Linked DNA regions of Homo sapiens: all the other regions are linked to region 3. The links are contacts of gene promoters, found by promoter capture Hi-C in human tissues and cell types (Jung and others, 2019). All regions are on one chromosome and are shown on one strand. Each heading gives the region's core, a stretch centred on a gene start or on the middle of the fragment in contact. The rest is flanking DNA. Distances are from core to core; before and after follow the strand shown.

Evidence for each region. The method cuts DNA at HindIII sites, captures the fragments that hold promoters and counts their contacts. A contact is called where the count stands out against the background at its distance.
Region 1: a fragment that was not itself captured here is called in contact with the fragment with the promoter of ITGA2B in region 3 in 1 of the 25 tissues and cell types used here (IMR-90 fibroblasts).
Region 2: a fragment that was not itself captured here is called in contact with the fragment with the promoter of ITGA2B in region 3 in 2 of the 25 tissues and cell types used here (lymphoblastoid cells and thymus).
Region 4: a fragment that was not itself captured here is called in contact with the fragment with the promoter of ITGA2B in region 3 in 1 of the 25 tissues and cell types used here (psoas muscle).

What each region holds. Positions count from the first base shown.
Region 1 is chr17:44,567,397-44,570,659 of GRCh38, reverse strand. No RefSeq gene overlaps it. Among named protein-coding and RNA genes, the nearest start is that of FZD2, 12 kb to the right of the region's middle. The HindIII fragment of the contact is 4,266 bases long and covers 1-3,263 here.
Region 2 is chr17:44,549,242-44,552,651 of GRCh38, reverse strand. No RefSeq gene overlaps it. Among named protein-coding and RNA genes, the nearest start is that of FZD2, 6.5 kb to the left of the region's middle. The HindIII fragment of the contact is 6,889 bases long and covers 1-3,410 here.
Region 3 is chr17:44,387,721-44,391,153 of GRCh38, reverse strand. ITGA2B (integrin subunit alpha 2b) reads left to right here and starts at 1,505. Exons shown (of 30, transcript NM_000419.5): 1 at 1,505-1,868. The coding sequence starts at 1,681. RefSeq lists an enhancer at 1,289-1,348. The HindIII fragment of the contact is 17,139 bases long and covers 245-3,433 here.
Region 4 is chr17:44,588,650-44,591,952 of GRCh38, reverse strand. No RefSeq gene overlaps it. Among named protein-coding and RNA genes, the nearest start is that of FZD2, 33 kb to the right of the region's middle. The HindIII fragment of the contact is 5,617 bases long and covers 1-3,303 here.

The DNA of each region.
Region 1 (3,263 bases), core at 225-2,724, 180 kb before region 3:
ATACTACTACGTATCTATTGGAATGGCCCAAATCTGGAATACTGACAATACCAAATGCCGTGGAGGATGTGGAATAACAGAAACCCTCATTCACTGCTGGTGGGAATGTAACACGGTACAACCACTTTGGAAGATAGTTTGGCAGTTTCTTACACCACTAAACATACTTTTACCATACAATCCAGCAATCAAGCACCTTGGTATTTACCCACGTGTTAAAAATTTACGTCTAGGTGGCCGGGCACGGTGGCTCACGCCTGTAATCCCAGCACTTTGGGAGGCGAGATGGGCGGATCACCTGAGGTCAGGAGTTCAAGACCAGCCTGTCCAACATGGTAAAATGCCGTCTCTACTAAAAATACAAAAATTAGCTGGGTGTGGTGGCAGGCACCTGTAATCCCAGCTACCCAGGAGGCTGAGGCAGGACAATCGCTTGAACCCGAGAGGCGGAAGTTGCAGTGAACCTAGATCATGCCACTGCACTCCAGCCTGGGGAAAGAGAGCGAGACTTTGTCTCAAAAAAAAAAAAAATTATGTCTACATAAAAACCTGTACATGGATGTTTACAGCAGCTTTATAATTACCAAAGCTTAGAAGCAACGAAGATGCCCTTCGATAGGTGAATAAACTTACCAGACAGTTCTCCGGGTGGCCTTGGGCCACCCAGTTCTCCGCTTTCTCACTTATAGTATTCAAGAATAACCGTAGATTGTTCTGGGAATGCAGCATCCTGGGATAACGAGGGACTGGACAGCACAGCCTGAGCTCTATTCCAGGCCCTCCTAGAAATAGAATATCCTTTAAAAAAAAAGAAAACAAGAAAGAAATAGGACGTCCTTCAACATTTTAGCCCACCAAGTCCTGTTGTCCCTAGGATACAAAACCCAGGGCAGTTTGCTAGTGAGGTAAGCAAGACATACACACTGACAAGACTCCATTCACCCCAGGCAGCTTTTGTGAGCCTCGGGGGACTGGCTGAGTCCTAGGCTACGCTGTCCCTTGCTGCCTATCTGTAAGTAATACATCTGGTGCGTGTAGCTTATTTGATTGGGGGGGTTTTTCTGTTCCACCCAACTCAAGCAAGTTGGTAGCCAGGGCATAATTAATCTGCTTTGAAAAACTGTGGAATAGCCAGACATTATTCAGTGCTAAAAGGAAACGTGCTATCAAACCACGAAAATGTGTCCAGAATTGGTGGGTTCTTGGTCTCACTGACTTCAAGAATGAAGCCGCAGACCCTCGCGGTAAGTGTTACAGTTCTTAAAGGCGGCGTGTCCAGAGTTTATTCTTTCTGACGTTCGGATGTGTTCAGAGTTTCTTCCTCCTGGTGGGTTCGTGGTCTCACTAGCTCAGGAGTAAAGCTGCAGACTTTCGCAGTGAGTGTTACAGCTCTTAAGTCGACGCATCTGGAGTTGTTCGTTCCTCCCGGTGGGTTCGTGGTCTCGCTGGCTTCAGGAGCAAAGCTGCAGACCTTCCCGGTGAGTGTTACAACTCATAAAAGTAGTGTAGATCCAAAGAACAAACAGCAACAAAATTTATTCCAAAAAGTGAAAGAATAAAGCTTCCTCTCTCCACCCCCCAACCCCCCCCCCCCCCCCCCCCCCGGAGAAATAGGACCCGAGTACATTGCCACTGCTGAGTCGGGGCAGTCTGCTTGCACTGCTGAGTCGGGGCAGTCTGCTTTTATTCTCCTATCTGGCCCCACCCACATCCTGCTGATTGGTCCATTTTACAGAGCGCCGATTGGTCTGTTTTACAGAGAGCTGATTGGTCCATTTTGACAGGGTGCTGATTGGTGCGTTTACAATCCCTGAGCTAGACACAAAAGTTCTCCACGTCCCCACTAGATTAGCTAGACACAGAGTGTCCATTGCTGCATTCACAAACCCTGAGCTAGACACAGCGTGCTGATTGGTGTGTTTACAAACCTTGAGCTAGATACAGAGTGCTGATTGGTGTATCCACAATCCCCCAGCTAGACATAAAAGCTCCCCAAGTCCCCACTAGACTCAGGAGCCCAGCTGGCTTCACCCAGTGGATCCCGCATCGGGGCCACAGGTGGAGCTGCCTGCGGGTCCCGCGCTGTGAACCCACACTCCTCAGCCCTTGGGTGATCGATGGGACTGGGCGCCCTAGAGCAGGGGGCAGCGCTCTCCGGGAGGCTCGGGCCGTGCAGGAGCCCACGGCGTGGGGGAGAGGAAGGGGTGGAGGCTCAGGCATAGTGGGCTGCAGGTCCCGAGCCCTGCCCAGCAGGGAGGCAGCTAAGGCCTGGCGAGAAATCCAGCACAGCAGCTACTGGCCCAGGTGCTAAGCCCCTCACTGCCCGGGGCTTGCGGGCTGGCTGGCCGCTACGAGTGCGGGGCCCGCCGAGCCCACGCCCACCCAGAACTCGCGCTGGCCCCCAAGCGCCCCGTGCAGCCCCAGTTCCTGCCCGCGCCTCTCCCTCCACACCTCCCCGCAAGCTGAGGGAGCCAGCTCCAGCCTTGGGCAGCCCAGGAAGGGGCTCCCACAGTGCAGTGGTGGGCTGAAGGGCTCCTCACGTGCCGCCAAAGTGGGAGCCCAGGCAGAGGAGGCGCCGAGAGTGAGCGAGGGCTGCCAGCAGGCTGTCACCTCTCAAAAACACGTGGAGGAACCTGAAATGCATATTACTAAGTCAAAGAAGCCAATCTGAAAAGGCTACATATAGTATGATTCCAACTCTATGATATTCTAGAAAAGGCAAAACTGTGGAGACAGTAAAAAGATCAGTGGTTGCTAGGGGTTGGTGGGGCTGGGAGGGTTGAATAGGTAGAGCATAGAGGATATTTAGGTCAGCGAAAATAGTCTGTGTGATACTTTAATGTTGTATATATGTCATTATACATTATAGAAAGTACAACACAAGTCCAGGCACGGTGGCTCACACCTGTAATCCTAGCACTCTGGGAGGCCAAGGCAGGCGGATCACTCGAGCTCAGGAGTTCAAAACCAGCCTGGGCAATATGGCAAAACCCTGTCTCTACTAAAAAAACCAAACCAAAACAAAACAAAAAAACCACACACACACACACAAAAATTAGTCAGCTGTGGTGGCACACACCTGTAGTCCTAGCCACTTGGGGGGCTGAGGTGGGAGGATCCCTTGAGCCCAGGAGGTCAAGGCTGCAGTGAGTCGAGATCGTACCACTGCACTGTAGCCTGGGTGACAGAGACCCTGTCTCAAAAACAAACAAACAAGAAAGTAAACCAACAGTGAACCTTAATGTAAACTGTGGACTTTGATT
Region 2 (3,410 bases), core at 727-3,226, 160 kb before region 3:
TGTGAGGTGTTGGATGTAGAAACATGAACTCACAATCTAACAGGGAAACAGACATGTAAACAGACAAGGGAGGGACAGGCATTCCAGACAGAGGGAACATTGTGTGCAAGGGCGTGGTGGGGTGAAATAGATGGAGTAGGGAGGCAGCGCAAGACTTTGGCCCTGTGAGAGTCCCACGTGCATCTAGGAGAACGACGGCAGAGGAGGCTTTAAGTAGTCAGAGATCTTGGATACCTTGCACACGGTCTGGGCTCCTGGAGATGAGGATATACTGGAGAATTTTGGGAAAGGAAGAGGTCACATTTGCATTTTAACTAGTGCATTTGGGCAGTTTTGAGGAGCATCATGCCGGGAGCCTGAGATACCAGTTACAGATTGATCACAAGAGACCAGGCAAGAAATGGTGACGGCAGGAACTGAGATGTGACAGTGCAGATGGTAAGGAGAGAGAGTAAGGGACGAGATCAACCAAGGCTCTGACCTAGGTGCCCTAATGCTATTAACCAGGCTGGGAAATGCAGGGAAAGGGCAGATAATGAGTGCAGTCATGCAAGCCTGGTCCTATGGCACATCCAAGAGAAGGTGTCCAGAAGGCAGGCGAATAATCTAACTCAGTGCTCAGGTCAGAACTCTGGGCTAGATTTAGATCTGGCACCTTCAGCCTATGTCTGATGGTATGAGCATGGCTAAGATCACCTAGGGAAGATGGATAGGGTGGGAAGGCCAAAGCTTTGGGGATGTCAACATTTAAAGGCCCTGGGGCCAATAAGGAAGGAGACTGAGAAGAGGTGTTTGGGCCAGCAGAGATTCTAGCCAACATGAGGATGTCACAAGGTTTGTTTCTTCTGGGTCTGAGAGCTTCAAGTCAGGTTTTTGTTTTCTTTCTTTGTTTTTGTTTTTGAGACAGGGTCTTGCTCCATTGCCCAGGCTGGAGTGCAGTGGCTCGATCTCACTCATTGCAACCTCTGCCTCCCTGGTTCAAGGGATTCTCCTTCCTTGAGTAGTTGGGATTACAGGTGTCCACCACCATGCCCAGCTAATTTTTTTTTTTTTTTGAGATGGAGTCTCGCTCTGTCCCCCAGGCTGGAGTGCAGTGGCTCCATCTCAGCTCACTGCAAGCTCCGCCTCCTGGATTCACGCCATTCTCCTGCCTCAGCCTCCTGAATAGCTGGGACTACAGGTGCCCACCACCATGCCCGGCTAATTTTTTTGTATTTTTAGTAGAAATGGGGTTTCACCATGTTAGCCAGGATGGTCTCGATCTCCTGACCTCGTGATCCGCCCGCCTCAGCCTCCCAAAGTGCTAGGATTACAGGCGTAAGCCACCATGCCCGGCTAATTTTTGTATTTTCAGTAGAGACAGGGTTTCACCATGTTGGCCAGGTTGGTCTTGAACTCCTGACCTCAAGTGATCTGCCCACCTCAGCCTCCCAAAGTGCTGGGATAACAGGTGTGAGCCACCGCACCTGGCCCAGAATTTTTATTTTTCTTATTTCAGTTGTGAGAATTAAATGAGACAGCATATGACACTCACTATGACCTGGTGCTAGACTAAAAGCTTGGTAATAGTAGCTATTATTTTATCCAATAAATTATTGAGCATCTACTACATGCAAAGCAGATAGTCTGCAGAGACTCAGCCTCCAGCTTCAGGGAGCCTACAGTCTAGGGGGCCACATTCTGCTATCGCTCCCTAAGGAACATTTCTCTTTAGTCTTGGGCTTCTGCTGTGGGCTGGGAGCCTAGGTGTCCCCAGTGCACAGAAGTGCCACTTCTCCCCCAAACCCCGAAGTACCACTGTTAATCGTGTCTGCTTACAAATCTGACATCTAGGACCAGGTGGAGTGGTTCACACCTGTAATCCTAGCACTTTAGGAGGCTAAGGTGGGAGAATTGCTTGAGCCAGCCTAGGCAAGATAGCCAGGCCCTATCTCTACAGAAAATTTTAAAATTAGTCTGGTGTGGTAGCATGCACCTGTAGTCGCAGCTACTCAGGAGGCTGAAGCGGGTGGATCACTTGAGCCCAGAAGTTTGAGGCTGCATAAGCTGTGATCACCCCACCGCACTCCAGCCTGGACAACAGAGTGAGAACCCATCTCAAAAAACAAACAAACAAAAAAAAAACCAAATCTGATATCTGGGATAATTGTTGGGTACCTACTGTAAATCTGCTGCAGGGTCCATTCCCCCGTTCTGTAGGATGGGCTTGGCAGGAGCAGAAATCTCAACCTAACAGGAGAGCAGAGAAAATAGCTGTTGGAGTGGAAAGAAACCTGGTCTGGGGCTCCAAATGTCTGGGCTGCAGGCCTGGCTCCAGCCCCACTGGCCCAGTAGCTTAGGCAAGTCACCATCCCTTCCTTAGCTGCAGCTTTTTCATCAGTAGAAAGGGATCATAAAACAATTTATTGATTTTACCCTTGAGCCAGATGTAGGAGGCTGTGAGAATATGATGCTTGGATCATTGAAACTCTCCTTGCTTCATGCCACCCAAACAAGATGAAAGACTTGTGTGTCACAGATAAGTGAAATGACAGTCAGCAACATCCAACACACACAGGCATGCTCAGGAGAGGAGAGCACGGAGAACTTCTCCCCGCTAAGGAAACCTGGGGAGATTGCCTAGGGCTCCCACTCCCCGCAAAATATCCTCCTGTCTCTGGCCTTTCACCTTCCCCCGTCACAGTTTAGGTAATCACACATGTCCAGGTCTCCTTGCACGTTTTCCTCTAGAGCCCTTGCTTTCCAGAGAAGCTGTCCCCTCTGTCCTTGAGGGCTAATCTAAGGGACAATGCCTGGTATGGTGACTCCCGAGGGAATTCCCCCTGCTCCAATGAGCCTGCCAGAGGACAGGTCCCCTCTTTGTTTCCTCAATTCTGGGTCAGTGTTCTTTCCTTTTCAAAGCACTGAGGTCCCTCCACCCTAAAGAGGGAAGGGCTATGTGTATCTGTTTAGGAGACAGAGATCAAGGAGGAGGACTTAATTTCAGATACTTTAGGAGCCTCAATGGTTTTATTCTCTAAGCAAAAATGTTCTGCTCTAAACGGGGTGGGTCCTAGATACTTTGTGGAAAACAGGTCTGAGCATTCAGAGAATCAGTCTCCTTGGCTCCCCTCTCCCCTGACCCACACAATATGCCTCTGCTTTAGGTGAATTCACCTTTCCTCCTCTCTCCCTGAACCTGTCCATCAAGACCTTGAATCCACCTTCAGGTGAGGTATCAAATTCCTTCTCCCTGCACTCCATCCTCCATTTAGATCTCAGGGAAATGACCCTTAGAAATGGGCCACAGACCGGGCACAGTAGTAATCCCAGCACTTTGGAAAGATGAGGCTGGTGAATCACTGGAGCCTAGGAGTTGGAGACCAGCCTAGGCAACATGACAAAACTGTCTCTACTAAAAATTTAAAAAT
Region 3 (3,433 bases), core at 256-2,755:
CATGAGCCACTATACCTGGCCTAATGGTTATCTTTGTATCCTTTATCAACACAGTGCCTTGAACAGAGTAAATACTTATTGAAAACTTGAGTGAAATGTAAGTTCATATTTGGCCTCACAGAATACACCAGTAATACAGCAATCACTCACCTGAGGACAGTGGGAGGATAGAAGGTAAGTAGAGGACTGGGTTAAGTATTCGTTCAAGCAAATACATTAATTACACGCCTCCCATGTACTTGACACTGGGAACTCAGCAATGAAGAAGGCCCAGACCAAAGTTCAGGCTTTTAGCTTCCTGTCCTATAAAGGATAAGATTCTTAACTCTAGGCTGAGGTAGTAAATTACGAGGGGACTTCAAAATGGTACAGGGTGGTTGAGCAGGATACGGCAATGGTTAAGTTTGATCAGAAAATAGAAATCAAAAGGAAAATGTGGCTATGGTTACCCCTAGCGGACCTCTTAAATCTTCCTGAGAACCTGCTTTTTTGGGAAGGCATGAGTGCCAGTAAGACTTGGCACTCCTCCTCTTCCGCTTACCGAGAGAAAATGACTTTGCCTTTCTGCTCAAAACTCATCCCTTCACTTTGTCACCCTATGTTTGCATCTTCCATCCTTAGTGTGTGTTTCCATCCAGTCTTTCAGCAATACACGTACTACACATTGGACTCTTGGGTAGTCTCTAGGGCTGTAGCAAGGAGCCTTGCTCCCAAGGGACTCATTTACACAATCCTGTGAACGGACCAAGAGTAAACAGTGTGCTCAATGCTGTGCCTACGTGTGTTAGCCCACGCGGCCAGCCTGAGGAGTCAGGGAAGGCTCCCCTAGGCAAAGCCCCCAACCAGAATCAAGTCTTAATGGTTAAAGAGCTCCATCACCCAAAAAGGATTGAGGGCCTACCTTCAACTGAACAGCTAATGCATAATCTCAGAAACTGTGAGTCAAAATTCCCTGGAATAACTCCACTTTATCCCCAATCTCCTTGCCACCTAGACCAAGGTCCATTCACCACCCTGTCCCCAGCACTGACTGCACTGCTGTGGCCACACTAAAGCTTGGCTCAAGACGGAGGAGGAGTGAGGAAGCTGCTGCACCAATATGGCTGGTTGAGGCCGCCCAAGGTCCTAGAAGGAGGAAGTGGGTAAATGCCATATCCAAAAAGATACAGAAGCCTCAGGTTTTATCGGGGGCAGCAGCTTCCTTCTCCTTCCCCGACCTGTGGCCAAGTCACAAAGCACCACAGCTGTACAGCCAGATGGGGGAAGGGAGGAGATTAGAACTGTAGGCTAGAGTAGACAAGTATGGACCAGTTCACAATCACGCTATCCCAAGCAGAAAGTGATGGTGGCTTGGACTAGCACGGTGGTAGTAGAGATGGGGTAAAGATTCAAGAGACATCATTGATAGGCAGAACCAATAGGACATGGTAATAAACTATTCTCAGGAAAGGGGAGGAGTCATGGCTTTCAGCCATGAGCATCCACCCTCTGGGTGGCCTCACCCACTTCCTGGCAATTCTAGCCACCATGAGTCCAGGGGCTATAGCCCTTTGCTCTGCCCGTTGCTCAGCAAGTTACTTGGGGTTCCAGTTTGATAAGAAAAGACTTCCTGTGGAGGAATCTGAAGGGAAGGAGGAGGAGCTGGCCCATTCCTGCCTGGGAGGTTGTGGAAGAAGGAAGATGGCCAGAGCTTTGTGTCCACTGCAAGCCCTCTGGCTTCTGGAGTGGGTGCTGCTGCTCTTGGGACCTTGTGCTGCCCCTCCAGCCTGGGCCTTGAACCTGGACCCAGTGCAGCTCACCTTCTATGCAGGCCCCAATGGCAGCCAGTTTGGATTTTCACTGGACTTCCACAAGGACAGCCATGGGAGGTGAGCCGTAAGGGAAGTTGGGGTATTGGGAGAGAGCAGGACCCCTCCCCATCACTGCTTCTGGGGGCTTCGAGTTTCCCATTTGCGATAGCAGTTGAGCAAGGTGACTTGTGGGGCCTATTCAGGTTGATTTCTTGTCAAGAATGTTGGGGTCCAGGGGACTGGCTCAGGTGAAGGTATAAGGGCAGGGCACATGTGGGCTGATGGGCACTGAAAACTACAGCAAGAACAAAGGGAAGACAAGAGTTGATGCTTTATTTTTTCCCCAAGGGTCAGTTGTATGAACCACTCCACCCTCAACACCTTGAAATGCAGAGAGGAGGCCGGGCGCGGTGGCTCATGCCTGTAATCCCAGCACTTTGGGAGGCCGAGGCGGGCAGATCACCTGAGGTCGAGAATTCGAGACCAGCCTGACCAACATGGAGAAACCCCGTCTCTACTAAAAATACAAAAAAAAAAAAAAAAAAGAGACCAGGCACAGTGGCTCACACCTGCAATCCCAGCACTTTGGGAGGCAGAGGTGGGCAGATCATGAGGTCAGGAGTTCAAGACCAGCCTGGCCAATATGGTGAAACCCTGTCTCTATTAAAAATACAAAAATTAGCTGAGCGTGGTGGCACACTCCTGTAGTCCCAGCTACTCGGGAGGCTGAGGTAGGAGAATCACTTGAACCCGGGAGGTGGAGGTTGCAGTGAGCTGAGATCATGCCACTGCACTCCAGCCTGGGTGACAGAGTGACACTCCGTCTCAAAAAAAAAAAAATTAGCCGGGCGTGGTGCCGCATGCTTGTAATCCCAGCTACTCGGGAGGCTGAGGCAGGAGAATCGTTTGAACCTGAGAGGCAGAGGTTGTGGTGAGCCGAGATCATGCCATTGCACTCCAGCCTGGGCAACGAGAGCGAAACTCTGTCTCAAAAAAAAAAAAAAAAAAAAAAGAAAGGAAATGTGGAGAGGAGCACATGTCCTAAATTGATTTGCAGAACTAAAGTTGTCTACCCTCCCGCACCTTGCATTTCTGTTCCATTTCCCTCATCTCCATCAACATTATAAATATTTGAAAAGAAGCAATAGGTCATTAATGATTAGTATTGATCAGGCTTCAGAATCAAGAGTGCCAAGATTAGAGTCTTGGCTCCTCCTCTTCATAGCGTGTACCCTGAGCTACTATTGTGAGAGACACTGTGCCCACCAGCTTCAGGGAGTGGCAATGGGTGGCAATGGCAGATAGCCTTCAAGTGTCAGCCACTTAGGGGATTTCCTCTGCTGAAGAGAGCCAGTTCACTCCAAGTCCCCTCCCAAGATGGCCCACATCCAGTGTCTGATCAATGAGAAGTGGGTGAGTGGGGAGAGTGGAGGCAGGTGTGGGGGAGGCATTTGATAAGGGTCCAGCCCTCTTTCATCAACTCTGACAATTCTTTTTTTCTTCTTCTTCTTTTTTTTTTTTTTTTTTTTTTTTTTTTGAGATGGGGTTTCGCTCTTGTTGCCCAGGCTGGAGTGCAATGGCACAATCACTGGCTCACCGCAACTTCTGCCTCCCGGGTTCAAGCGATTCTCCTGCCACAGCCT
Region 4 (3,303 bases), core at 404-2,903, 200 kb before region 3:
AAGCTTATAAGTGATTTTACACACACACACACAGATACAAAAACACATGTAAAGTACCCAGCTGGAGTCTGATGTGCTGCAGGTACACCATGGCTAGCTGTGGTTGTTGTTATGAGAAGACTACTTCCTAACTGGTCTGCATGTCATTTATAGCAAAATTCGCATTAGTGAATGTGCACGTAGGCCTTTAGAAGAAAGGGGCTTGATTCTTCTTCCAGGGTAGAGATTCAGGCAGGAAGGCAATAGGAGCCCCTCCCCTGCCCAACCTTCAGGGGTAGAGGCAGCTAAACCGTTGTGGAAGCGCGTGTTGCCTTTTTCCATCAGAGAGATGGGGGGAAACTGGGGCCTTGTCTGTACCTCCTAAAAGAGCCCCTCTGCCCTGCAGGTCCCCTTCACCCTTGGCTGTCTGCTCTCAAGGCACTCTGGCTGCTTTCTACCCCTCATGTTATCTCCCCGAAGGCCATCTGCCTTCCTTCCTTTTTAAAAAAAAATCTTAATTATTGTATTACATTTAATCACCAAGTCGTGAGTAATAAGATCCTGAAAGGACTGGTGGGGACTCTCCAAGCCAGACTGAATCTCACAAAGGAAAAAAAATTAAACAAAACAAGGGAGCCACTCACAGAGCCCCAGACACACACTTACATACTTTCTCACACATACACATACACGCGGAGTCTTAAACACTAAAGATGTACAAGGAGCACAGGTACCAAACACACATGCACACACTAGACACAATACACAAACACACATGAACACACTAGACACAATACACACAAACACATGCACACAGTAGACACGATACACACAAACACACATGCACACACTAGACACAATACACAAACACACATGAACACACTAGACACAATACAAACACACATGAACACTAGACACAATACACACACTAGACACAATACAAACACATGTGAACACACTAGACACAATACACACAAACACATGCACACACTAGACACAATACACACAAACACACATGCACACACTAGACACAATACACAAACACATGCACACACTAGACACAATACATACAAACACACATGAACACACTAGACACAATACACACACATGCACACTAGACACAATACACACACATGCACACACTAGACAATACACAAACACACATGAACACACTAGACACAATACACACACACTAGACAATACAAACACGTGAACACACTAGACACAATACACACAAACACATGCACACACTAGACACAATACACAAACACACATGAACACACTAGACACAATACACACAAACACACATGCACACTAGACACAATACAAACACACATGAACACACTAGACACAATACAAACACACATGCACACACTAGACACCATACAAACACACATGCACACACTAGACATAATACATACAAACACACATGCACACACTAGACATAATACAAACACACATGCACACACTAGACATAATACATACACACATGCACACACTAGACACGGTATACACAAACACACATGCACACACTAGACAATACACAAACACACATGAACACACTAGACACAGTACACACACACATGCACACACTAGACAATACACAAACACACATGAACACACTAGACACAACATATACAAACACATGCACACACTAGACACAATACACAAACACACATGAACACACTAGACACAATACATACAAACACACATGCACACACTAGACACAATACACACACATGCACACACTAGACACAATACACAAACACACATGAACACACTAGACACAATACATACAAACGCACATGCACACACTAGACACAATACACACATGAACACACTAGATACAATACACACAAACACACATGCACACACTAGACACAATACACTATTTCCAATACAAGTATCTGCACACACACACAGATACACATATAGCTAATAAAAAACCCCAACCAAGCAGTGTGCACTCACACACACGAACTTACAGGAGGCCTGACGACTGTATTTCAAACTTCACCTCCCAACCCAAGTCCAAAATCTGTCTCCAATTATCTGGCCCGTGTTGAGAGCAACAGGAAATCCAGAGCTGCCTCTGTCTTCTGCGGGAGATGGCGGGATTTCAGTCATCTCTCCATCGTAGAAAAACAAAAGCCTTCTGGCCTTGCCTCCCTCTCCCTGCCTCTAAGTCAGCTGGGGCTAGGAGGGTGTGGGTGGGAGGGGTAGGCAGGATAGGGGAAGAGAGGTGTCAAACCAAGCCTAGGAACAGCATGAGGAGCCTGGGAAGCCTGAGTCCTGAGCATGAGTCTTTCCGCCTTCCCTCAGAACACTGAACAGGGCACTTGTGTGGGTCAAGGATGGGGCAGACAGTGGGGACTTGGAGACTCAGTAATGACTCTAGACACCAGCCTCATAAGTGACCAAGCAGCATAGCAGAATAACCACTAGACTTACGTTCAGAAGACCTGGGCTTGGCCCCAAATCAGTGAGCCAGCTGCCAGTGATTTCATTTCTTAGAACCTCACTTAGAAAATGGGGGTGATCATAGCCACCCGCCCTACAGGGTGGTTGTGAGTGGTAAGTGACTTGTGCTTGTGTAGCTGGGAAAAATGACCACACCAACGTCATTATTAGCTATGAGATGGTGTCCCAGCCTGTGTGCAAGTGGCCGCTCTCCCCTCAAAGGAGGTAGTTCTCATTGCTTCTCCAGATGCCCTTGGCTAATCCCAAAGAAGAGAAAATACTGCTTCAAGAAACCTGGGTGAGTGGCCAGGTGCAGGGGCTCATGCCTGTAATCCCAGCACCTTGAGAGGCTAAGGCAGAAGAATTGCTTGAGACCAGCAGTTCAAGGCCAGCCTGGACAACATAACAAGACCCTGTCTCTACACTTTTTTTTTTTTAAATAAAGGATCCTGGGACTTCCGTTATTCAGAATGGTTCAAAACTTGCTTCTGGACAGTCATGCCACAATGCTGATTATTCTCTGTAGCACCGGCATTTTGAAGGATTTGCAATTGTGACCATATTGCTCTGTCAGTCTTCCATTGCTTTAGTCTAAGTTCCTCCACCAGACTGGGGGTTCCCAGAGACCAAACTGTCTCCCCCGCACATTACAGTCAGGTCCTTGCATCCTCCAAGAATGCAAGGAGACCAGAACTGTCTAACGTGCTAGAATTTAGAGGGTAATAATTCAGCAGCCCCTCCCTGTGCCTTCAGAGTGGGACATTCTTATTTGCATTTCAGACTTCTACCGACACCCAAAATATAGGGAATCCAAAGAAGAAAAAGGAGTAAGACGGAAAAGGAAAACTCTTCCCCCTCCCCACC